Regions from separate parts of the Homo sapiens genome. Here all the other regions are linked to region 1. Evidence: promoter capture Hi-C in human tissues and cell types (Jung and others, 2019). All regions are on one chromosome and are shown on one strand. The core of a region is centred on a gene start or on the middle of the fragment in contact, and the rest is flanking DNA. Distances in the headings are between cores, read along the strand shown. Region 1 overlaps ELMO2 (engulfment and cell motility 2). Region 2 holds the start of PLTP (phospholipid transfer protein). Region 3 holds the start of ZNF335 (zinc finger protein 335).

The links. The method cuts DNA at HindIII sites, captures the fragments that hold promoters and counts their contacts. A contact is called where the count stands out against the background at its distance.
Region 2: the fragment with the promoter of PLTP here is called in contact with a fragment that was not itself captured in region 1 in 2 of the 25 tissues and cell types used here (dorsolateral prefrontal cortex and spleen).
Region 3: the fragment with the promoter of ZNF335 here is called in contact with a fragment that was not itself captured in region 1 in 1 of the 25 tissues and cell types used here (spleen).

The regions. Positions count from the first base shown.
Region 1 is chr20:46,392,407-46,396,401 of GRCh38, reverse strand. ELMO2 (engulfment and cell motility 2) reads left to right here. Exons shown (of 22, transcript NM_133171.5): 3 at 1,870-1,997; 4 at 2,313-2,353; 5 at 2,801-2,873; 6 at 3,259-3,309. The coding sequence starts at 1,920. It overlaps LOC124904917 (a long non-coding RNA gene), which reads right to left. Exons shown (of 3, transcript XR_007067614.1): 3 at 1-3,161. Among named protein-coding and RNA genes, the nearest start is that of ELMO2, 12 kb to the left of the region's middle. RefSeq lists an enhancer at 1,669-2,168. The HindIII fragment of the contact is 3,871 bases long and covers 380-3,995 here.
Region 2 is chr20:45,910,905-45,914,899 of GRCh38, reverse strand. PLTP (phospholipid transfer protein) reads left to right here and starts at 2,745. Exons shown (of 16, transcript NM_006227.4): 1 at 2,745-2,821; 2 at 3,437-3,547; 3 at 3,649-3,748. The coding sequence starts at 3,448. The HindIII fragment of the contact is 16,312 bases long and covers 1-3,995 here.
Region 3 is chr20:45,970,565-45,974,559 of GRCh38, reverse strand. ZNF335 (zinc finger protein 335) reads left to right here and starts at 2,357. Exons shown (of 28, transcript NM_022095.4): 1 at 2,357-2,438; 2 at 3,100-3,350. The coding sequence starts at 3,150. RefSeq lists an enhancer at 1,736-1,955 and a silencer at 2,726-2,845. The HindIII fragment of the contact is 24,986 bases long and covers 1-3,995 here.

The DNA.
Region 1 (3,995 bases), core at 1,066-3,565:
CCTTAAGCCCTCTGCATTTTATTGTATGTAAATTATATCTCAGTTTTTAAAATTGACCTCACAACCGTGCAGTCCTGTCTACTAATTGCAGCAGCTTTGCCGATAAGGATAAGGATGCATCTCTAAGCATCCAGAGATTGATGGCGCCACCCCTAGAACAAGAACTCCCTGTCTTGCTGTAACTGGAGCAGAGCATTTTCCCCAGAAATTATGCAGATAGGGCCAGTTTCTTTTCTGAGGTTTGTCGTGTGTCTAGGCACATAAAAATTACATGTGAAAAATTCTGCCATGAGCTGCAGAAGTTATGGAAGCCTTGGGGGCCATAAGGCCAACCCACTTCAATCCCTTTAGGCTGCGTTTAATTGCAGTGGACAGAAGTTGAGGCTGGCTCAAAGGAAAAGGGGAAAGCATTGGCCGAAGCCAGTCCAAGTTCTGTCAACCGTTATGACTTACTAGCTGGGTGACCTTGGGCACTTAACAAAACACTGAGCTTTAGTTGTGCCATCTTCAAATGGAGGTGATAATCCTGTTCTGCCTAATTCGTGGGGCTGCTGGGAGGACACAATAAAATAAGTGAAAGCACTTGGAAAACTAGTTCCTTTACATTGTCATGTTCTGGAAATGCTGGCTTTTTATGACAGTAGACTTCTGAAGCATCCCATTCTGACTAGGAAATGGTCATGAAAGCATCCCTCTTTCTGAGGCCGATGGGCTTGTGGGGGACAGGACTTTTACTCCTTTTCATCTAAGAGGTTTATACTTACCAGGCTGTGAGAACTGACATCTGTGTTTGGGCTGAAAAATTGATAGCATACATGCATAATAGCCTCGCGACAGCTATGCTTTGTACGCCAGGAGAGGCAGGTGGTCCCCATTAGCGAGGCATGAATTGTGGGTGAATGGCTAAACCTGGAGGATGCAGAAAGGTCTTTTTCATTAAGAGAGGGGCCTCTCCTGAACTTGTAGGCAAGGAGTGTAAATATACATTGAAATAATCCATCAGCCAAGTGACTTCCCTTCGTCAGACCTTGGAGAGAGAATGCTTTAGTTACTGCTTGGAATACCAGTAAGCTATCAGAGTTGCCTAGGATACCAGTCACATGGGCCCATCTTCCAGACTTGCTCAGGATGATTTATTTTCCTTTATTTTGGAGAGAAGTGGGGGAGGGGGTCAGAGGTACTTGCAAAGCCTTGTCCTTATAAGAGGGGCCCTTGTGTGAGGATATCCTTACCTCTCTCCACTTGAGTTGTCAGCCGCCCTTGCCCTTGGCAGTAGGGACGAAAATAGCATTTCCTGTCCCAGTTATCTTCCCCATTTTCTGATGTCGTCCCACACAGAGGAGGCTTTGCATTGTGTCCTTTGAGGGGAAAGGGGTGGCATCGATGAGTGGGGAGGAAGCAAGAGAGCATGTAGCTGGGCCCTGCTGATGCTGGGATCTTCCTAGGATGACTGCAGAAAGAAGTAGCCTGGCTCCTCCAGCTAACCACTCAACCAAGAAAAGGCTGTCTATTCTTATCTGTCTCGGAGCATATGCTTCTCTCCTCCCAAGGTCTCAAGACAGGAATTTGCAGTAAATACATTCCTCTACCACTGAGTCTTCTTGACTCTTAAACTGAAGTGCCACATTGGCATATCTTGCTACTGGCTGATCTATGGATGATAGATAGTTTGTCCCATTTCTTCTTGCTGATTTAATCTCAAGAGACAAAATCCTAAGCAGAAGTTGTGGTATGATCTAGAAAAATTCAAACCAGGTAGTTTCATGTGTTACTTTATGCAGTGTCTGTCTTCAAACTCTTCAAAACATGTAACAAGAGTGAAAAATGAAGAAATACTCTTTTTCCACCTTTCTGATTCTTTCTCCCCAGGCAGCCGTGTCTGTGTTTTTGTCTCGCAGAATTAGAGCCCATTGGGAACGATGCCACCACCGTCAGACATTGTCAAAGTGGCCATTGAGTGGCCAGGTGCTAACGCCCAGCTCCTTGAAATCGACCAGGTATGCTCCTGAAGTGAGAAGCAGTGGTTCAAGGAAAGGCACCTGGGGAGTGCATGGCAGAGGACATCTTGAGGGATGGGGACCACCGGCATCAAGAGTAAGAACGAGCAACAGGAAGGCTAAGCTTTGGGCCTGGCCCACCCTAGGGAAGGTCGGTCACCATGGCTTGGGAGAGGCTTCCTCTTCAACAAAAGCTGTTAGGAAAGAAGTTCATTCTCATGCCCCAGCTTGACCCTGCTTGGCAGGCCTCTTGTCAGAACCTTGGCATGAGTAGGATGTTGCTGCTGTTGAAGGCTTTCTCTCTCTCTCTTTCAGAAACGGCCCCTGGCATCCATTATCAAGGAAGTTTGTGATGGGTAGGTTGAAATGGACCTCGTTTTCAACAGTGGCAGCTCCGACTGAAAGAGCACTCCTACACCTTGAGGGGAGTTCTGGGAAGGATCTCCAGTTAGGCAGGTCCTCAGCATGGGGGTCTTGGGAATCATTGTCTTGGGAAGGAAGTACAGTTGACAACCATACCCCTAAGACGTTTATACTTCTTAATTTTTTCCTTAAAGTCTAGCATTGCCCTATTGAGGTAGGATCTGAGACCCCTCCTCAGTTCTGCACACCTCCTATTGTGGTGCTCATCTTTACAAAAGGCTGAGGCCATGATTTTTTCAACATGACAACCTAAAGCTTTGTTTCCACTGTATTCCAAATAGGCCACCCAATCCCTTGAGCAACTCTTTTGAAAATTACTTATGAGCAGCTTCTGAACAAGAGAGTGGCCAAGTGGGATATACTGTTTTTCTCTTGCATAGGTGGTCGTTGCCAAACCCAGAGTATTATACCCTCCGTTATGCAGATGGTCCTCAGCTGTACATCACCGAACAGGTTAGTACAGGGAGAGGCAAAATCAATATGGGCCTTGCTTGGAATTAAACGACCCAAGGAGACGGCACTATTTATCTTCACTCAGCATCCAGGTAGCTTCCATGTGTTGGGTAAAGAGTCACTCTCCGGACAGACTGGGAAACACCAGCCCTTGTTCTTCCCTAGTGGCTAGAAAAAGGTGGCTTTTACTTCCTGAGTGCCCAGGGTGCTAGAGGAGGATCTTAGAAATTCTTTGCCAAGGAATAAGCAGGAGAAGAGGGCCCGACTGAAGATCCTCAGTTACATCTACTGTAAAAAAGACAAAACATTATTGTTGATTCAACTTGCTTGTACCACTTTAACATTTTATCTTAGTTACTTTTTTTGTTTATTTTTCACTACCCAGACTCGCAGTGACATTAAGAATGGGACAATCTTACAACTGGCTATCTCCCCGGTAGGTATTCTTTCTTCCTTAGGAGTTTATTCATGTCACAAACAAATATGAGCACCTACCATGGGCCAGACTCTGTTCTAGAAATAAGTACTCTGGAGATAAGAAAGTCAGTCTTTTTGTATCAGGAAATAGTACAGGAAAATAAGTCTGTCTTGGTTCTCACCACCTAGTGGGGAGTAAACAAATGCAATAGAAGGCCTGTCTCAAGGGTCTTGAGAGAAAGTTGCTTAGGGAGCTGTGGGAACTCACAAAGGGGACCACCTAACTCAGCCTGGAGATTTCCAGAAAGTCTTGCCAGAGAAGGCGTCACTTAGCTCAGATGTTAAAGGATGAGCAAGAATTAGCTAGAGAAATAAGAAAAGGAAAAGTATTCCAGTCAGAGAAATCAGCATATGCCAAGGCACAGAGGTATGCTGTGTTTGGGAAAAGCAGGAGTGCTGGGTGGCTGGAGGCTTGTAGCAGTCATTGAGAAGCCAGATATTCAAGGTTCCTTGATGGCCTACTCGTAGGTTTCAACTCTGTCCAGAAGGAAACTGGGGACATTGAAGAATTTTAAGCAGGAAGATATGTTATGTTTAGATTTTAAGTTTTAGAAAGATCACTTTAGTGACCATGTGGAAGATGGGCCTTAAGAAGAAGGTTGGTGGTAGTAGGAACCTTTGAAGAGGCTAATAAGGAATGTTAAC
Region 2 (3,995 bases), core at 1,496-3,995, 480 kb after region 1:
CTAGAGTTCAAAGGAACACAGATACTTCCTCCTCTGGATACTCTTAACACTTTCTCTGTTCTCCCTCTACACCTTTTCTGCTTTGTTTGCTCGTGGTATGTGCCCCTAATTAAGATAGCTAGCATTTATTTGGCACTAATGATGTGTCATGTACCAGGCCCATTTATTCTTGCAATAACCTTAAATTATTGTTTCCATTTTAGGATGAGGAAATTGAAGATCTGAGTGCTTAAGCAAGGGATCAATGTCATACACCTAAGAACTGACAACCTGGGGTGTAAACTCTTGTCTGTCAGACACAAGAGTCTAAGTACATAACTACCGGGCTATAAAGCCCACCTTCCACTCTTCCATGAACAGTCTACGGATTCCCTAATAGCAGCCACAGAATTGCTTCAACCTCTACTTCCTGTTAAAGAGGGTTCATAATAGTGCCAGTCTGACAGGTTGTTAAGGTTAAATAAATTACCTAGAATTCGGATGACCAGTTGTAAGGTTTCCCAGGGACTGAGTGGGTTCCCAGGAATGGTTTCAAAATGGGGATGGCTGGATGTGTGGCTCACGCCTGTAATCCCAGCACTTTGGGAGCCCAAGGCAAGAGGATCACTTGGGTCCAGGAGTTCAAGATCAGCCTGGGCAACATGGTGAGACCTGTCTCTACAAAAAATACAAAACTTAGCTGGACATGACATGGTACCACCTGCCTGTAGTCCTAGCTACTCAGGAGGCTGAGGTGGGAAGATCGCTTGAGCCCAAGAGGTGGAGGCTTCAGTGAGCCGTGATTGTACCACTGCACTCCAGCCTGGGCAACAGAGCAAGACCCTGTCTCTAAAAATATAAATAGGCGGCCGGGCGCGGTGGCTCACGCCTGTAATCCCAGCACTTTGGGAGGCCAAGGCAGGTGGATTGCCTGAGGTCAGGCGTTCGAAACCAGCCTGGCCAACATAGCGAAACCATATCTCTACTAAAAATACAAAAAATTAGCTGAGCGTAGTGGTGGGTGCCTGTAATCCCAGCTACTTGGGAGGCTGAGGTAGGAGAATTGCTTGAACCTGGTAGGCGGAGGTTGCAGTGAGCCGAGATTGCGCCATTGCACTCCAGCCTGGGCAACAAGAGAGAAACTCCATCTTAAATAAATAAATAAAAATAAATAAATAGGCTGGGCATGGTGGGTCACACCTGTAATCCCAGCACTTTGGGAGGCTAAGGCAGGCGGATCACTTGAGGGCAGGAGTTCAAGACCAGCCTGGCCAAAATGGCAAAACCCTGTCTCCACTAAAAATACAAAAATTAGCCAGGTGTGGTGGCACATGGCTGTAGTCCCAGCTACTTGGGAGGCTGAGGCAGGAGAATCACTTGAACCCAGGAGGCAGAGGTTGCAGTGAGCCAAGATCACACCACCGCACTGCAGCCTGGTGACAGAGCACGACTGTGTCTCAAAAAAATTAATTAATTAATTAAATAAAAAAGGAAATGGAACTATTTTTGTGAATCTGTGGATTATATCAGAAAAAAAAGACACAATGGGGAAAGTCCTAGGCAAATCAGGATGAGTTAGTCATCCTTCCTAGATGAGTGTTTGGTGCTAAATACATGCTCAGCAGACATGATTATTGCTTCCCCTTTCTTTCGTCCATTTGGCAACAAAAAGGTGGCAAGCACCCACTCTGTGCCCTGTCCTAGGGTCCGGGAACCCTGTAAGCAGTAGATGGAGGTGGGGGTGGGGGTGGGGGCGGGGATGCTGTTCAGAGCACCTTGCTCCAAGGGTTCATTAAAAAATCCACCAGTGGACCGGGCGCGGTGGCTCATGCCTTTAATCCCAGCACTTTGGGAGGCCGAGGCGGGCGGATCACAAGGTCAGGAGATCGAGACCATCCTGGCTAACACGGTGAAACCCCGTCTCTACTAAAAATACAAAAAAAATTAGCCGGGCGTGGCAGCGTGCGCCTGTAGCCCCAGCTGCTGGGGAGGCTGAGGCAGGAGAATGGCGTGAACCCGGGAGGCGGGGCTTGCAGGGAGCCGAGATCGCGCCACTGCACTCCAGCCTGGGGGACAGAGCGAGACTCCGTCTCAAAAAATAAAAATAAAAAAAATAGAAAAAACAATCCACCAGCCACGATAAATGGCAGACCTCCTTCTGATTTCAGCCGGTGTGGTATGTTCCTGGGCTGACAGCACTTGTCTAGTCTTGCTTTCCCAAGTGGGAAAGGTCTCTGGGACCTTAAGGTCCCCAGGTGGTGACACAGAGACAGGTAGGGGGGCCCATAGCAAAGCCAGGCAAGGAGGTCCCGAGATGATTGTGGGTGGCAGGGAAAGAAAAAATATTCCTTGACTTTGTGCCTGGACCTGGTTGTAATAAAGGCCCAAGAGGTAGTTCCTATCATCGTGCACATTTCGCTGAAGGAAGAAACTGAGGGTCAGTGACCCAAGTGAAGTGACTTGCCCAAGATCATGCAGGAAGACATGGATAATTGTAATTTGAACCAAGGTCCCAGCAAAGTGGGATTGTTGGGGCTGAGTGGGCCGGCTCCTGCATTTCCTTCCCTCTCCCTGGGCTTGGGTCTCCCACTTGTCCAGACAGCGGCCGGGCTTGTCACGGGGCTCTGTGCAGCCTTTTCCACTCTCCCGGCTGCCAGCGTCCCGCCCCGTCCCCTCCCAGCCCCCAAGGGAGGAGGGGAGAGCTGCAGAGAGGAGGAGGGGTCGGGGAGGCCGGCTTTATAAAGGCGGCTGGAACAACCCTGCCCGCCAGACCCCGTCGCCCGGATCCCCTGAGCTGCCCGCCATCCCACGTGACCGCGCCGCCCCCCAGCTCCACCGCTGAGTGAGTTGGGGCGCGTCCCTATCCCGTTCCCAGTCCCTCGCCGAGCCGCGTGGTGCACTGAAGCCGGCGTGGGGAGGAGAGCCGATGAAGGAGAACGCTAACATGGGGGCTCCAGGCAGAATCTCTAATGGGAGAGATTTAGGACCTGAGGGAGCCGGGAGACCCGGGAGCCCACGGTCTGGTCGGCCACCTCCTCTCCTCCCCGGGCGCGAGGCCTAGGAGACCGCAAGCCACCCTCCAAGAATGCGCGTGCAGTCGTTGCCGTGGCAACGTGCAAGCCTGCATGGGCCCACCGCTAAAGGAAAGGGGAGGTTGTTGGGGGTGTGGGGGCTGGTCCCCTGGAGGTCCAAACTCATCACGCGGCGGTAGCACGAGGGAACTGGGAACGTCCCCTCCCCCGTGTCCCAAATCCTCTGGGAGCCAGAACGCAAGTCGCATCGCCTCTCTGAGCCTCAGTTTCCACATCTGCCATATGGAGGCAAGATTATTGGTTCCAAGTTCCCCGAAGAGTTATCTGGAGGGTAACGATCCAGGCTAGTTCCCACTTATGGTTGGACGTCCAAGGAATGGGTTTAAGCGGCTCAGATAACTCCTGCGACCCCACCCCACCCCCAGGCCCGCTCGCCATGGCCCTCTTCGGGGCCCTCTTCCTAGCGCTGCTGGCAGGCGCACATGCAGAGTTCCCAGGCTGCAAGATCCGCGTCACCTCCAAGGCGCTGGAGCTGGGTAAGGCGCAGGGGCAGACAGGGACGGACGGGAGCGGACGGGGTTGGGGTCGCCCCAACAGTGGGCACGGGAGCTAAGTAAGGGTTTCTCTGCTGCTTCAGTGAAGCAGGAGGGGCTGCGCTTTCTGGAGCAAGAGCTGGAGACTATCACCATTCCGGACCTGCGGGGCAAAGAAGGCCACTTCTACTACAACATCTCTGAGTAAGTGGGGGGCGGGGCCTCGCGATCCGGGGCGGGGCCTCGGCGGTGGAGGCGGGGCCCGAGAAATCTCAGGGTCTCGGGAGACTGGAGGCTGAGTGGGATGGGGCGTGGCCAAATCGATGAGGCAAGACTTAAGAAACCGGATGGGGCCGAAAAGATAAAGGCCAAGCCAGTCATCATAGGCGGGACCAGGCAGATGGGCGTGGCCTTGAAAATGTAGAGGGGGCCAAGAAGGAAGCAGGACCAG
Region 3 (3,995 bases), core at 1,108-3,607, 420 kb after region 1:
TCTCACTCTCTCACCAAAGCCAGAGTGCAGTGGCGCACTCATAGTTCACTGCAGACTCTACCTCCTAGGAGGCTTCAGTCTTAGTGGGGAAGGGAATGAGGGTACTGTGGGGCTACTTCGGAGTACCCCAAACTTGGGAGAGGTGACTTGGTCAGATGTAGGATGCACCCTACTACCCTACTGGCATGAGGGGGCAGATGCTTCTGTAGGGCTGAGGAATGGGGTCCACACGGGAAAACTGCCTGGAGATAGTAAAACCAACATGTCATCATGCCAGTGCTGACCTAGCTCTTCAGAGCTGCTCTGGGGCCTGGTCCTGCTGGTTGCAAGGGATAGGGGATGAGGGTCCTAACCTATCCAGAGGCCTCCTGTTCCATTCCCTCAACCCAAAAGGGAAACCTAGGAAAGAAAACTTTACCTAAGAAAAGGACCAGATGAATCCCCTCATACACAAGTGCACACAAATAACAGCTCAAAGCACCCTTTGTCCTTTTTATTTTTATTTATTTATTTATTTTTTGAAGCGGAGTTTCTCTCTTGTCGCAATGGCACAATCTCGGCAACCTCCGCCTCTGGGCTTCAAGCGATTCTCCTGCCTCAGCCTCTCGAGTAGCTGGGACTACAGGCGCGCGCCACCACACCCAGTGAAATTTTGTATTTTTAGTAGAGACAGTTTCACCATGTTGGCCAGGCTGGTCTCGAACTCCTGACCTCAAGTGATCCACCGGCCTCAGCCTCCCAAAGTGCTGGTTATTACAGGTGTGACCCACCGAGCCCGGACCTTTTCTCCTTATTAATAGGTCTTCTCCTTAGGACTTTTTGTTTGTTTGTTTGAGACAAGAGTTTCCGCTGTTGTTCCCCAGGCTGGAAGGCAATGGCGTGATCTCGGCTCACCGCAACCTCTGCCTCCCGGGTTCAAGCTATTGTCCTGGCTCAGCCTCCTGAATAGCTGGGATTACGGCATGCGCCACCACGCCCAGCTGCTTTTGTATTTTTCGTACAGATGGGGTTTCTCCATGTTGATCAGGCTGGTCTCAAACTCCCAACCTCAGGTGATCCGCCCGACTCAGCTTCCCAAAGTGCTGAGATTACAGGCGTGAGCCACCGCGCCCAGCCTGCTTAGGAGTTTTTTTGAGATTTTTTTCCCCCAAAATTTGTATCTTTCAATTAAGGAAAATAGCCTATGGAACTACAGAGACTTAGGGACAAAAACCAGAGCGCCTTACTCCCTCTTGTGCTCTTCCACTGCAAACTGCTAAAAGTCTTAAAACAGAAGGTGACATTTCCGGAGGAAGGACATACCTTAAGGGCAGCTGACTTTTAATTAAAATTTTTTTTCTTTCTCCACTTTTAAAGGATAGGTAGTTGACTTGTATTTATTTATTTTTTGAAAGAGGGTCTCGCTCTGTCGCCCAGGCTGAAGTGCAGTGGTGTGATCACGGTTCGCTGCAGCCTCAACCTCCCAGACTCAAGCGATCCTCCCACCTCAGCCTCCCGAGCAACTGGGATTATAGGCACGCGCCACCATGCCTGGCTAATTTTTCTTTTTTTTCTTTTTTTTGTAGAGATGGGGTCTCGCTCTTTTGCCCAGGCTGGTTTGGAACTCCTGGGATCAAGCGATTCTCCTGCCTTGGCGTCCCAAAGTGTTGGAATTACAGGCGTGACTCACAGCGCCCGGCCTCAGCTCTATTAATGTTAACAAATATGTATACAAACCTAAGGGACAAGCATTAACTTCTTTCCATTTCCCCGACTCCTGCCATCCGTACTTAGCTCCTGAGTCCCTTTATTGGATGTGATTTTGGACCAGCCCTTCCCATACCCAGACCTCAGTTTCCCTATCTGTACAATAATTATACATTCCCTTCCCAACAAAACACATCAAACCTAACGGGCAGAGCTCGATTGGGTTGCAGCAGCGCGCTAAGTAATAAGTAATGAGTCAGGTAAAATGACTGACAACATGAATTCCTCTTTGGCCAAGCCAAAGTCGCCCGCGGCCACACGCTCTTCCGGGCTGTTGTAGGAGGGGCGCGGCCAAGCCACCGGGAGCCACGCCCCCCACTGGGAGCCACGCCCCAAGAGAGCGGGGCGCGCATTCGCCGCGCCCAACCCTGCGGCCTAGGGAAGGGACCAGAATGACGTCACAACCACTTCCTACGTAACACTCCGCCGAGATAAAGTAGTCCCCAAACCATAGTGGGCTCAGTGCCAAACACCGGGCGACGTATAAAGTCCCAGAGTCTGTTGAGACCCGATTATGGTTTTGAGGCCTCGGAGCGACCTTCCGGAACACTGAAAATGTGTCTTTCCCGGGGCCAGCGGGGGAAGTAGTTCCGGCCTACAATAGGCCGATGGGTTCCTCCGCAGCGGAGGAAAGAGGATGGCGACCTCGTCGATGCCGGAGTCAGAGAGGAACGTGGCTACGAAAGCCTCGGGTGAGCTTCGGGTAGAGTTAGGCGGCCCCACCGTACCCTGCCGTGGAGTGAGGTCACACTGCGGGGATACCCGGAGGCGAGGTCCCAGGCCGGCGGGGCTGTCCGAACAGGGCCCCGGGGTCCCAGGCCCTTTAGTCGCTCTCGCACTTGCCTGAGCGGAAACCCGGCGCCACCACAAGATGGCGTCGGGCCTGGAGCACAGGCAGCGCCGGGGACAGCCCCAAATCGCCAGGCCCCGAGACCGTCGCTGTCAGCCGCCTCCGCAGGGGAACCGGGGGGGAGCGAACCACTGACCCAGGGGGCCAGCGGGCTGTACCACCGGCCCTGCAACCCGGGGGGACGCGGGGGCCGAAGGGCTGAACCACTGGGCCCGGATGGGGCTCACAGAGCGGAACGCTCCACGAGAATCGTGGGGGCGAGGGAAAGGGTCAAGATTACCAGCCATTGACCACCCTCCCGGGAAGGGCCTTAGCCTGGGAAGCACAGCTTCTCCGTCAAGTTTTTCCCGAGCTCCCCTCGCAATACACCAGGAAGCTCCGCCCCGTCGGAGACTCAATCTTCGCATCTGCAAAATGGGCGCAGGGGTGCAAATGGGTGGCCGTGGTTGCCGGGGCTGGGGAGATGGCCCACTTGTTCCAGCCACGGTCACCTCTCTTCTCAGAGTGAAGTTCCCAGACCCTACGCCCCGCTGTCAGGCAGCCCGCCGATCAGATGGAGGAGAACGAGGTGGAGAGCAGCAGCGACGCGGCCCCTGGGCCTGGCCGGCCCGAGGAGCCCTCTGAGAGCGGCCTGGGTGTGGGCACCTCAGAAGCCGTGTCCGCCGACAGCAGCGACGCCGCGGCCGCCCCGGGGCAGGCAGAGGCCGATGACTCTGGCGTGGGGCAAAGCTCGGACCGCGGCAGCCGTTCTCAGGTATGGACCCGGCTGGACGGCGTGGGTGGAGGCAAGGACCGCGAGCAGCAGTGCCTGACAGCCAAGAGGAAACAAGGCTTGTTTGTAGCTAATACTTGGTGTTTCTGGTTTACTGTGAGCCAGGCACCAAGCCAAACCCCTAAAATGGATTTTCTCATTTGAGCTTCATACCTTCTAAGACACATACCATTTTTTCCCACATCTTATAGAAAAGGATGCCGAGGTACAGAGTGCAGACAGAGCCAGGATTCAAATCTAGGCTGTGGTCTTAGCTACTATACTACCCACAGTCCTCACACTTTGAGAGGCAGATGTCTAGGCCAGGAGTGGTAGCTCATCGCCTGTAATCCCAGCACTTTGGAAGGCTGAGGTGGGAGGATCACTTGAGCCCAGGAGTTGGAGACCAGCTTGGGCAAATAGCGAGACCTCATCTCTACAAAAAAAAAAAAAAAAACGCAAGTGCCCTGGGTTAAGACTGGGTCCTGCCTCCAGTTTACTGGGAGACCTCTTTGAGCCTCAGTATCCCGGCTAAAGTAAAGCAGAAATACTTGCTTTCAAGGGTGCTTGATTGTGAGCTCCCACCAGACATCCTCTTGCAAACATTTTGTAAACCATCTCCTCCTGGCTGTGCCACTTCCTAGCCGT